3 separate regions of the Homo sapiens genome follow, and regions 1 and 2 are each linked to region 3. Evidence: promoter capture Hi-C in 16 types of primary human blood cells and fetal thymus (Javierre and others, 2016). All regions are on one chromosome and are shown on one strand. The core of a region is centred on a gene start or on the middle of the fragment in contact, and the rest is flanking DNA. Distances in the headings are between cores, read along the strand shown.

What was found. Contacts are between HindIII fragments. The CHiCAGO score rates a contact against its expected background, and 5 or more counts as called.
Region 1: a contact is called between a fragment that was not itself captured here and the fragment with the promoter of CHASERR in region 3, in 9 of 17 cell types (naive B cells, total B cells, activated CD4 T cells and 6 more). The highest score is 12.1, in naive B cells.
Region 2: a contact is called between a fragment that was not itself captured here and the fragment with the promoter of CHASERR in region 3, in 10 of 17 cell types (naive B cells, total B cells, activated CD4 T cells and 7 more). The highest score is 10.7, in naive B cells.

The regions. Positions count from the first base shown.
Region 1 is chr15:92,983,254-92,987,602 of GRCh38, reverse strand. CHD2 (chromodomain helicase DNA binding protein 2) reads right to left here. Exons shown (of 39, transcript NM_001271.4): 25 at 3,103-3,273; 26 at 1,930-2,105. Among named protein-coding and RNA genes, the nearest start is that of MIR3175, 81 kb to the right of the region's middle. The HindIII fragment of the contact is 8,348 bases long and covers 1-4,349 here.
Region 2 is chr15:93,001,878-93,006,121 of GRCh38, reverse strand. It overlaps CHD2 (chromodomain helicase DNA binding protein 2), which reads right to left. Exons shown (of 39, transcript NM_001271.4): 33 at 3,805-3,945; 34 at 1,371-1,505. Among named protein-coding and RNA genes, the nearest start is that of RGMA, 85 kb to the left of the region's middle. The HindIII fragment of the contact is 2,248 bases long and covers 1,813-4,060 here.
Region 3 is chr15:92,881,593-92,885,918 of GRCh38, reverse strand. It overlaps CHASERR (CHD2 adjacent suppressive regulatory RNA), which reads right to left and starts at 3,076. Exons shown (of 6, transcript NR_037601.1): 1 at 2,733-3,076; 2 at 2,141-2,334; 3 at 335-404. RefSeq lists silencers at 2,350-2,599, 3,220-3,349 and enhancers at 2,593-3,234, 3,660-3,749. The HindIII fragment of the contact is 7,161 bases long and covers 1-4,326 here.

The sequences.
Region 1 (4,349 bases), core at 181-2,680, 100 kb before region 3:
AGAGTTTTGCTCTGTCACCCAGGCTGGAGTTTAGTGGTGCCATCTCGGCTCACTGCAAACCTTGGCCTCCTGGGTTCAAGCAATTCTCGTGCCTCAGCCTCAGCCTCCCAAGTACCTGGGACTGCAGGTGTGTACCACCACACCTGGCTAATTTTTTGTATTTTTAGTAGAGAGAGGGTTTCGCCATGTTGAGACCATGCTGGTCTCAAACTCCTAGGCTCCAGCGATCTGCCTGCCTTGGCCTCCCAAAGTGCTGGGATTACAGGCGTGAACCACCATGCCTGGCCAAATACCATTTTTTAAAATTTCAAATACCCAAAAAGAAAGCTGGAGTGGCTATACTAATATCAAACTGAAAATAGGAATTAAAACAAAAATTGTTACTACAGACAGAAATACATGTTACAATAAAAAGGCCAATCAAGACCTATCGATTATAAAAAATATATACAATTAATAAGAGTCCAAAAACACATGAAGCAAAAACTAACAATTGAAGAACAAATGGATCATATAAGAGTAACAGAGATGTCAACATCCCATTTTCAATAATGGGTAGAACAACTAGGCTGCGCACGGTGGCTCAGGCCTATAATCCCAACACTTTGGGAGGCTGAAGCAGGAGGATACTTGAGGCCAGGAGTCTGAGACCAGCCTGGGCAACATAATGAAACCTTGTCTCTACCAAAAAAAAAAATTTTTAATTAGCCAGACATGGTGGCACATGCCTGTAGACCTGGCTACCTGGGAGGCTGAGTGAAAAAGGCACTCAGGCAGGAGGATCACTTGAGCCCAGGAGTGTGAGGTTACAGTGAGATAGGATCATACTCCAGCCTGTGCAAGAGAGCAAGATTCTGACTCTACCAAAATAACCACAACTATACAGAAAATCAATGAAGAAATTAAAGACCTGAAAAACACTAAGCCAAATACAGCTATAGAACATACTGCCCCATAGCAGAAAACACATTCTTCTCAAAATAATACTGGGAATAGGGAGCAAGAAGAGGTGGGGTGTGTATATATACATACAATTTTGGCTACAAATTCAAAATTGTTAAGATGATAAGCACAAGAGGGGATGTGTTACATGCTATTCTGTCAGTATTTTGAAATATTTCTATTTTTCCATAGTAAATTAAACAAAGAAAGAAGAATAGGTGTGACCTTTAAGTGAAAAGAAACACCTCACAGTTTCAAATACATGAAACTTAAAGGACTATTTAATATAATTATAATATGGATTAGGCCTTAAAACCATCTTTATACTTTCTATTTTCTTCAGGCTTAAAAAAAAAAGATGGAAACTGGAAAAAAAATAATTTGTAAGCAACAATTTTAGATTTTTTTATGGAGGATAGAGACATTTGAATCAGATACCAAGAAATGTATAGTAATCACTCACATAGAAAGATGTCTAAAATGGATTTTAAATGGGATCGGGGAAAGCAAGGTGCTGAACAACATGCTGTACATACTACTTATAAATCAAAGCAAACCACTAGCAAACTGATGTCAGTACTAACACAGGTGGAAGTGGGATTGTGGCGGAGGGGAGAGGTAGTGAGGGTAGACTTATTTGTACCATTTTTATTTTTGATATTTCTTTTATATACAGATACATAAGTCTGTATATACATGTATGTCAATTATCTCCTTCCCCGAGCTGAACTTTGTGAAAATGTTCTGAATAACCAGAGAATAAGAGAGAAATAGAGAGATGAACAACAAATAAAAGTGATCTCAACAGAAAGAAACCTTGGAGAAGGAAGGATCATCCTACAGATCTGGGACAGGACCCAGCTTCTCTTTCCTTTTTTGTAGGTATTAGCCTCTGCCTACCCTGTCACGATGTCCAGGATCCAGTCAACCCAAGACTTACAGTACGCACTTTCAAACAAGCTCAGTGAGAACAGAGCCTCCACCAACCTTCGGATCTCTGCATCAGTAAATCCCTCCACGAGGTCCTTCCGCACACTCCTCGGACGCCCTCTGCGCTTTGGCTTCTTGTCATCATCAGAGTCTTCCGTTTCACTCTCAGAAGCAGAGGATCTCTGGGCCTGCCTCTTAGACTCAGTGTCAGAGTCACTGTCATTTGTCTGAGCCTGAGAAAGATCGAGGCAAAGTCACACTGTAACAAGTGCGAAGTTCAAGTGGTGAAAGGACTAAGAGAAGGCCATCTTAATTCTTTAGTATTCAGAACTTCTCACCATATCAGACAAGTCAATTTTCCTTTGACAAATAAGGGGAGACAGGTCTTGGAGAAATACCCACTTAGGACAGTCATACTTTCAGAGACATTGTAATATAACGATAAGTGAACTGGATTAAAAATATATGAATATTTTTACAATATCCCATTATAAAACAGGTTCATGTTTACTCCTTTGGGCAAGTAATTTTACTCTTTGTGCCTTTATTTTCTCATTTGAAAAATGAAGACAATAGTACCTATAACAGATGGTTTTCAGTAAGTTAAAGCACTTAGAAGTATGCCTAGCACATTGTAAGGGCTCAATAAATGGTAGCTAGTGTTACCTCATACTGATTTACTGTGACCTTGAACAAATCTGTGTCTATTACCTCCAACAAAATGGGTAAAAAAACTTGTTCTACCTATTTCAATGTTGTTACAAAAATCAAATTAGATAGTGTCTGTGATGGAGCTTTGTGAACTGTCAAGTTGGTATATGTTTCTTATTTATAGTTATATAATCCTTTACTAAGTATTTATATCAAGTGCTGTGAACTGTTATGGACAAACAGAGGTGTGACTTTCTGAAAGTTGAAGGCAGTGGCAATTAACAGCCAAACTGTGAGGACTACTCAAAGGCAAAATGCAAACTTCTGGAAATTTCAGACCCTGTTTATCAGCTTCACAAAGAGCCAATTTGCAAAGACCAAATCCGATGTCTCACAGGTGTGCTCAGGAGCTCTGCAGATTTCTCCACTTTCCTTTGTTAAGTTTCCTACAGTATCAACTCTGCTCCTGAAGCCTCTGTGTCAGGGGAACAATGCAAGGCCTCTTCTTTGAATAATCAACACTTCTGTAGCATTCACAACATAAGAAATAATTTCATATCTTTCATCTCACTTGATCACCTTTTTAGTGGAACTCCGAATTCGAGGCAGCATATAAATTTCTTCTAGCTCCTTCTGCCGCTCTTCCTCCTCTACTTTTTTCCTTTGTTCCTCTGGAATGATCTCATCCCAGTCCTTGTGAGGACGCTCTTCTAGCTCTTCTTCATCTTCCATTGTTGCAAAGTTGGCAACCTTAAAACAGACAACCCATTGTCTGACATTTCCCTATTTCTAAACACCATCTACTAAAACAATTTATCCAGTGTTTTTATCTAAGTAGACACTGTGAATAATAGGACTTTTGTGATATTACATAATCAGATAATCAATTTTCTATTAATTTTTCCTTTATACCCCCAAAAATCAACTTGTCAAGTCCTCAAGTTCATCACATCATAAATTTTACTGAAAAGCAGAGAAACAGCTACAAAGATACAAATTGTTTTTATAAGTTTTATTGAATGAGCTGTTATAAATCATATACATGTTCTAATAAATATAATACTAATGATAAAATTTAGATTTATTTAGATTTTAAAATGCTTAATACCTAATACTCCATGATGAACTTACATTTCTATAAGTTGTATAGAGTTCATTTGAAACAATGCATAACTCAAAGCACTCATTATCATCTAGCCAACTGGTTGCTTTATTCATTTTTATCAAAAATATGAAAGTTAAAGATGTGTGGTGATTTCATATGCTCACAAGTGCACTTTAGTCTTAGGAAATAAAATGAAAACATAAAACAGAAAAAATTTAAATAAATCTAGAAGAATATTCTCTTCATTTCTTATCAAATATTATTTAATATCCGATATGTATTTGTACTAAAACAGTAGGTATCCCAGAAAGAAAGCCATCTAAGTGTATCCATTTCAAAGAACCAGAGGAGGAGTACACAGAAACATCTACCACCTCTGGACAGCATCTGAGCAGTGGCAGGCAGCCCCCAGCCTGGCTCCGCATTCTTCTTATTCCCTCCCTCCTAGCCTTTGAGACAGTCATAAGGTATAAATGAGCTTCTGGAGGCTCCATTCCTTGGAGCCAACAGTGAAGTCAAGTTAAGACTCTTACTTTATGACTTTTGGCTAAAATTAACTAAAATTAAGATTGATGTAAATATGCACATACGTTAGTGGTTCATGCAGTAAGGAATTTAACTTTTCCAAAAGGGACATCGTGGTTAAAGGCCAGACTCTGGCCCTTAACTTAAGATAGTGCTTGAAACACAGTAAGAGTTACACAAGTGCAGGTTTTTATTG
Region 2 (4,244 bases), core at 1,687-4,186, 120 kb before region 3:
AGAGAGAGACAGAAAAAGCATAGGTTGAGAGGGAGGAACACCAAGGGATTCAGCTTTATATTTTGAGTCTTAAAAAAATTCAGATTTGACAAAACTTCATGGTATATTTATCAATGACTATTATATCCCTGAAATTTCTCTGCATCTTTTAAAGATTTCATAATATAAAAACAAGATTAAATGAGTCATTTGTAAGAGCATTTTTTAAATATCATGGTACCATAGAACATTAGATATCATTTTCTCTTATAAACACTCGGAAAAGAAAGACTAGGAAACAGATTGGTTAGCTGGCTATGTAATTAGTTTATTCATTTATTCAATTTACTCATTTATTGATATACTTCTAGCATCTAAATGACCTTTATATAAAACAATACTTGTCCTCAGAGAGCTCACAGGCAAAAAAGAGACTTAAGAAAACAGAGTTAAGTGCAAAGAAAACAATATCTATATACATACGTGTATAGGTTTTAGAGAACTCAGAGAAAGAAGTCAGAGAGAGGTTACAGGACAGGGTCAACAGGGTCCTTTGCTGCCACAGGATGGAAGTATTTTCAAATTTGAAAGAAAACCGCTTTTTCTTTCAGCCTGAATGAGCCGTTTGATTAATGGATTTGTGGAAGTATGGGGAGAAGAGACCACAGAGAGGTGGGGAAGGGATGGTGGCACAGTGAAATCTATACCTGCAGCTCCAGCCAGGGGCAAAGGGACCTTGAGGACACACTGGCCTGTATCCAATCCCGTGCAAGACCTGGTCCATGCACTCGCTCCCCATCGCCTTGCCCTCCCCTCTTCTCCTGTTACCTTTTATTCTTCCTTCAGAACCCAACTCAAACATCACTTCCTTACACAAGCCCTCCTGGCAACCCCTGACTAGGTCAAATTCCCTTCTCACAGGATCTCCACAGTATGCACTCTCTCTCCTCCAGAGCCCTGTCACAGGGGCACCAACATGATTTGTGTAGTTATCTAACTCCCCTACTCCAATGTACAGTTTACGATGATAGAAATGGTTATCTATTCAACATGGTAACTCTGGGGGCTGGAACACAGAAAACATTCAATAAATACTTGCTCAGTGAACACTTCTCTTTCCCAAATGCCTCTAAGGGCCCTGAGAGCCTCTCTTAACTAGGAGCACAAGACATGAAATCCACTCCTTAAACTTCCCCTCAATAAAAGACAAGAAAATCTCTTCCTGCCAGCCTGCTGAAGAGCACATGGTCTTCCGATACTGTAAGCAATGTGTTTCCCAAGTAATGTACTATTGCTTAGCTCAACTGAAGCTCTGGCTGGACCTATAAAAGGCAGAGCCACAGCAAGTACCGCGGCTGCAGACACTGGCACCCCCCGATTTCAAGACTTACTATGCTGAATGTCTCCTGGTCCAGATCATCATCCTCATCCTCTCCAATGGGGACAGGTTCACTTCCTGCTGTAATATGGACAGGACCCTGAGATCGCTTTGATTTACTCGAAGATTTGGCATCACCACTTTTAGGCTTTTAAAAAAGAGTTACAAGGAGTCATTGTCATTTGTGCAATCCTACCGTGCGATTTAGGTTTCTTACCTATGTTGTGTTATTAAAATGGGTAAATATGATGGTCTCAGTTTATTTTTTAAAAAGTAAAATAAAATCCTGAAACATCATGAAGACAAACCTGTCTGATTAGCAGCTTACTCACACATTATTCCCATTTCCATCTCTAAATGTACCCAATTATAACTTCAATTTCATCAGTGCTATTTTTGGGCTTCTTACTCCTTTATCCATAAAATGCACAGAAATGTCATCAAGAGGTTAAGCTTGTAAATTGGCAGAACTCTCTAGAGTATCATGTAGCAACCTTTATTAACAGCATACCCTTTGGTTTAGGAATCTGTATTAACTACATTATTGTAAATGAACTCTATACAAATCTCAATTACATTGAAGGAAAGGTTGCAGAAGAATATATAAAATGACTTCAGGTACTTTTTTTTTTTTTTTTTTTGAGACAGATTCTCGCTCTGTCATCCTGGCCGGAGTGCAGCGTCATGATCTCGGCTCACTGCAACCTCTGCCTCCTGGGTTCAAGAGATTCTTCTGCCTCAGCCTCCCAAGTAGCTCAGATTACAGGCGCACGCCACCACACCCAGCTATTTTTTGTATTTTTAGTACAGACGGGGTTTCACCATGTTGTCCAGGCAGGTCTCAAACTCCTGACCTTGTGATCTGTCCACCTCGGCCTCCCAAAGTGCTGGGATTACAAGTGTGAGCCACTGCGCCTAGCTTGACTTCATGTACATTTTTAAGCATACAGTATGCTTTGTTTATAGTTATATGGATATACACTATAATATGTACTACAAATATAAAAACATGAACAGGAAGGTTTCGGACCCACTTCACAGTAGTGGTTATGGGGAAAACAGAGGAAGAGTAATAAAATCAGGGAAAGGGAACAGGGGGCAGCTTCAACAGTATCAGTCATATGTTCATGAAATACAAAAGATATCAGCGTCTCCCCCCGCCTGGCCCCGCCAAAAAAAAAAAAAAAGCCACTTAAAGTAAACATGAAAAAATATTAACAACAGTTGTGGTATCTGGAGAGTGGATAAACAGATGTTTGCTAAAATTGCTCTTTTTTTATTTTTTTAATATTTTACTTTAAGAAAAATAATGTCTTTCTGTGGGAGCACAAATGCACAGGTTATTTATCACAGTATGGTCTATTAACATCAAAAATTAGAAAGTATTTCAAAATGGGAAATTCAAATTGCTTCTAACATGTTACACCCAAACAGAATCCTCCCCAACTATTAAAAATGATTTTTTTTTTTTTTTTTTTGAGACAAGGTCTTCCTCTGTTGCCCAAGCTGGAGTGAAGTGTGACACAACCATGGCTCACTGCAGCCTCGAGCTCCTGGGCCTAAGCAATCCTCTCACCTCTGCCTCCCATGCAACTGGGCCCGTAGGCACATGCCGCAATGCCCAGCTAGATTTTTGCTTGTTTTTATTTTGTAGAGACGAGGTCTCCCTACGTTGCCAAGGCTGTAAAAATGACTTTAACATTTAATCACTTGGAAAGTTGTGATATACTGCTAAGTGAGGAGGAAAAACTACCCAAACAGCCTAATCTGATTTTTATATTTGTTCTTAAATAGAAGTTTATTTTATATTTAATATAAAATTTCAAAGTAAAAGTTTCAAAGGCACTTATCAAGAAATCTATTAGAGTTATCAACTGGATATTAGAATTACAGCAGTTGTTTGTGTTTTGGCAATGATTTTACTGTGTTCAGAGGTCAGCAAGTATACACTGCAACACTGTACCAAATTCTTTGGTTTAGAATGAACTTCATAAAACCCCTAATGTAAAGGTTATAATAGCAAGGCTTTTCATCCATTTATATTCCAATAACTCTTGCTAATATTTGTTTTTGACTCAAACTCTTCAAGTATTCAAATTCAGTTGTGGATTGTGCTCCTCTAATATGAATCTGAGAACGTATTTCGTATTTACATGTAAATGCCGATTTCTCTCACCTGTCCTATCTCATTCAAACATTTCCCCCTGAAATATGTCATAAAAGACCAAGTAAAGGCCTTCTTTTTTAAAGAACACCCCAAACTTGCAGGTTCCCCTCTCTCTGCAAGGACAGGTGCAGGTATCCCATCAACGGCCCCACCCATCCTTCTTGAACATACCCATAAAAAGACAATTATTCCAGGGCCCTCAAATCTCATTCTACTTCTAAATCCAAATGGCGAATTGCAAAGGCTGTGGATATCTGCATGAACAGAAGGGCATCATTACCTTCTCTTTCTTATCTTTTGACTTCTTTCTTTCCTTGTCCCCTTCTTTGTCTTTCCTAGAACTCATTTGTTTCTCCTTGTTCTCCTTGTTCTCTTTCTTCTTCTGTTTTTTTTTCATTGGACTTTTTTCCAAGCCATCATCCTAGGAAACAAAACAGGGCTATGAATTTTTGCTACAAATTTTATATCTACTTATGTACTTTCTGGAAAAAGAAGCACTGCCCCCAGTGGTTCATCACTGTCTATACTTAGAAGCTTGTTTTCAAGCAAATAGCCTCAAGGGACTCAGAGAAGTCTAAACTTTCCAGTAATAACCAGTTACAACTGTAGAGGCAGAAGCTCTTTACTGATATCCTCTCATTTAATTCTCATAGCAACCCTTCAACGTAAGTTTATTATTCTCATTTCACGGATGGAAACTGAGTACCAAAGAGATTATAT
Region 3 (4,326 bases), core at 1,827-4,326:
AAAAAAAAGCTATCTTTGGTTCATGGTTTTCCTCAAAATCTAATCAGTCTTCTCTTGTTCCCAAAATTAAACAAAGGCTTAAAGGACCTTCAGTATTTTAAACTATTCAAAGGGTACATTAAGTTACAATGGCTATGCGTATATACTTTTAATCTTTCCTGCAGTGAAAAGGCTTAAAGGCTTTTGTCAAATTATTTGATAGTTTACTCATATTCATAATCACAACTTTTAAAAATGATACCCATTCATTAATTGAAATGTAAATTATTAAAGATAAAACAAAAGCCTAATAAGCTAATTTTTGTCAAAACAATAAAAATTAACCCACTCTTACCTCAAATAAAAGAACTCATTATTTGTTCAGAACCAACAGCAACCAAATTAATTTTAATCTCTTAAGTCACCTTTAAAAAAAAGAAGAAAGATGATATTAATGTTTTGATTTTCAAGCATTTCTTGGCCAACGATTCAGTGTGATGAAACAAGAAAATATTCCACAGACAAAAATCTATGGGCAAACTGAAGAGATGGCTCATGGACACATAACCTGTATACATTTATGGTTGCAGTTATTTCTTATCTTAGTATCTATCAGTCTTTGTTTTCCTCATCTTTTGGCTGTATTGACCAATGCTAAAGATTAACGCATTGAATTAAACAGAAATACAGAAAATTCAAATTTTTGGACTGATTTAAGATTATGAACCTTTTTTTTTTTACTTTCCCTCTTTTTATGACAGGCAATAAACAAAGAAAAAGTTTACCATTCTTCAAGACAAATCATCTTAACATCTCCCTTACCATCCGGAAGTATGTTTTACAATCATGAGCAATTAAAAATTAGCTCCTCCAAGAGAAATTAGTGAAGTTAAAATGGCCACTGGTTACTTTAAATTTTAAACCACAAGTTACTTGATCTCACCAAGTGGGATACTAGCTTTGTCTCTAAAGCTACTCTAAAACTTACAGTATCTAGACCTTTACACTCAATTTCAAATCAGGGTCTTCAACATTTTCATTTCAGTCTTTCTCCTCCCCCATTTATCATGTAAAAAGATCTTTCAGGTTAAACTGCTAACAATTATTTTGCATTTCACAATTCAAAGAGGATTCTAAAGAACTAGATTCAGAATATTCATTTAAAACCACTTTCAGTGTTCAAAAATTTCAGAAACATTGATTTGAAAAACCAAAATTGGTACTTAAGACAGATTCTGTAAAATCAAGATATGCGCAACTGATGTAACATGTACCACTATAGGAAGGCTACTCAAAAAATAAAACAATTTTACTGGAAAAATGCCCTTAGAAATATGGTCGAATAAACCAGTATCTGATTTCAGATGTACTATGTAAGTCTGCCCAACACTATTTTTACGTAGTTCTGCACCTTTACAACACAAGAGCTCCGCAGAATGAAGACAAATATATTCTAAAATACACAAAGGTTTGTGCGCTTCTGGTTTGTTCTTCAAACCACTACACTTAAAAATTACCCTTCCAACATTTTTCTAAGATTAGAGACTATACAGAGAACTCTACTAAATTTTATGAAACCTGTACTTTTAAAATACTGTTCCGTTTTAAGCATATCTAGATTTTTATACATGCAACAAATGCAACAAATATGGCTCCTCTTCATCGCCCATTACCGAGAGCAGTCCTACTTTATTCATATTTACATTACGAGAAAGTAACTTCAGGAAGAGATTTGGTGTCAGAATGTTCTTTTGTGAAAGTTTTTCGATCATGGCTTGTGATAATATAAATTCTTAAAAATAATTAAATTATGAACTTTTAAAGACTAGGAATTGACCCAAGTACGTTCTAACATTCAGGTGTGAGAAGTTGCAGATAACGGCTCCTTGAGACCTTTTTAAAAAGTACCAAACAGTGTATTTAATCATATTTAAATATCAGGAGATCAAATGATCTTGGCGTCATTACTCGGTAAAATAAACTACATTAACCAAACGTCATCAGCTAGCTAGCACCGTAATTATCAAATCTATTTCCATTAAACAGCCTTGACGACACAGTAAACTTGTCTTCGTAATTCTGAAATACCAGAAGCACTCCTCCAACTTGCATTTTTCAAAGACAACCTTAACGTCATAAAGGTTTAATAAGCAGCAAGTACCTTCGCATGTATCACTGCAGCCGTTTCAAAATCGGCTTTGAAAGAGTTAAAAGCCAACACCCAATAGGAGGGAAAAAAACAAGTTTTATTTTTGTTGAAACGTAGTCAGGGTTCCATTGTTCTTTTAAATTCGATCATGAAGATGAGTTCCCACCTCACCGGAAAGAGGTTAAAAAGCTCCTCCGTTGGAGAACCTGAAAGGGATTTTTTTACCCTAAATATCAAAATAACTCACCAGGACAGAAAGGGGCTCTCCACGCCCGATCCCCTTCGGGCTCTCGCCGGCATTCACCCGCCGCCCCTTTCCCGGCGGATCCAGTCCCGGCGACGAGGCTGCCCCCCGCCCACCTGCCGCCCGCGGGCTCTGCAGCGGGGCCCCGCGTGCCCCCTACCCCAGGACCCTACGACTCGGGCCCAGGGCACCGAGGCGCATCCCGCCGGCGAGAGCCGGCCCCCGACCACGGAGGGGCAGTGCGAGAAGAGCCGAGCGGCGAGGCCCGGCCCGCCGCCCCCTCCTGCTCGCGCGCTCAAGGACATTTTGCTTTTCCTCCCAAGGACAAAGGACAATAAAAGGAGCTAGGGAGCCACTCACCGGGTCCGAGCGCGGCCACCGGCACCTCCTGGTCGCCCAAACCCGAGTCCCGGGCCGGACCGCCCGCCCGAGCCTCCCGCCCGCGCCGGGTCCAGCCGCCGGGGCCCGGGGGAGCCTCCGAGGCGGCAACCGCAGCGGCGCTTTCGGCGTCGTGGGCCCGGCCGCCCTGGGCGCCTCTGCCGCGGGCTGTGACGCCGACGCGCGCGGCCCGCCTCGCCTCAGCCGCGGCAGCCCCACTCCCGCGGGCCTGCTGGCCGTCCGGGCGTAGCTCCCCGCCGGCCGGCGGGCCTCGCGGCCGCGGCGGAACGCCTGACAGCTCGGGGTGCTGCTGCCTCTCCGGCCATCTTGTGCCGTGTGTGTGGTGTCTCTCTCCCGTCTCCTCTCTAGGCTTTACTCCCTCCTCCTCCTCCCCCCGCCCCACACACCACACAACATGGCCTCTTCGCTGCGGCGGCAGCGGCTGCGGCGGCGGCAGGAGCTCCGCCGCGCTCCAGCCCGCTCCCCTCCCCCACCATCCCCGCCTCCCGCCCGCAGGCCCGGGGGCCAACGCGCACGCGCGCCGCCGCCCGCCCGCCGCGGCCATTGGCTCCACGAGCTTCCTGCATCCCCTATCCGGGAGCGGCCTCACGCACGTTAGCTGGCGTCTTCCTCCCTCCCAACAACAACTTCTTCCATTCTATTGGTTAATTTCAACACCACCCCTTCCGCCTCCTTCGTGCGGATAGGCTGGCCTTAGTGCCATTCACTGTCCGTAGGCGTTTCTGGTTTTCTTGAGAAGCCCCGGGCCACGATTGGCTGGTGATGGAACCTTTGGGGTTGGAGCTGAGCTGTTGCTTTTTTCCCCGCAGTGCGGACCCCTCCAGGCTAGCTGGAGGGTTCCTGGTATGGTCTAGGCCAGGCTAGAATGGTTAGTGCAGGGTCGCACAAATAGTGGATTCGCGTCTAGAAAAAGCTCTGGCTTCGGTGTTTCTAGGTTCAGATTTTGTCTTTAAAAAAAGGGAAAGAAAAAAATGACTGACAGGATGATGAGCAAACAAGATACAGGCCCACAGCCCTTGGGCAAGCAGCCATATCCTCAAAATATTTGTTCTAAGCACCCAGGCCTTCCATGAAGGTCACACAGTCAGGACCAATGGTTTTACCATCAGCACATTCCCTAGCCCCAGTATCCGAGTTGAGATGCGATTTATTTGTGGATTTGTAGACTGCCTGTTGCGCATTTACCTGAGAGCCTAAAAGAATGTCTAGTGTCTTGTGAGCTGTCGTCATGGAAATCAAAAAAAACAATTAAAAAGAATGTCCAGTGTCCTGAGGCCTTAGCGAATCAATCTCAATACCGGTTGACTGGATTCCACCCTGTAGGACAATGTTTGTTAGAGTAGCAGTTTGAACCTGAAAAATCATAGTCTACCTTTTCAACCTCCTTCCAGAGAACCAGGCAAAACAAGTTTCATTTGCTTTCGGCAAATCTCACTTTTTTTTCGTTACTTCTTCCTACTTTAACGTGGAAACAACTCTAAGAAGACCATAGGAAAAAAATGAAAACCTAAACTTTCCTGAAATGGATGGGGAAAAAAAAAAGAGGTAGCTCTCT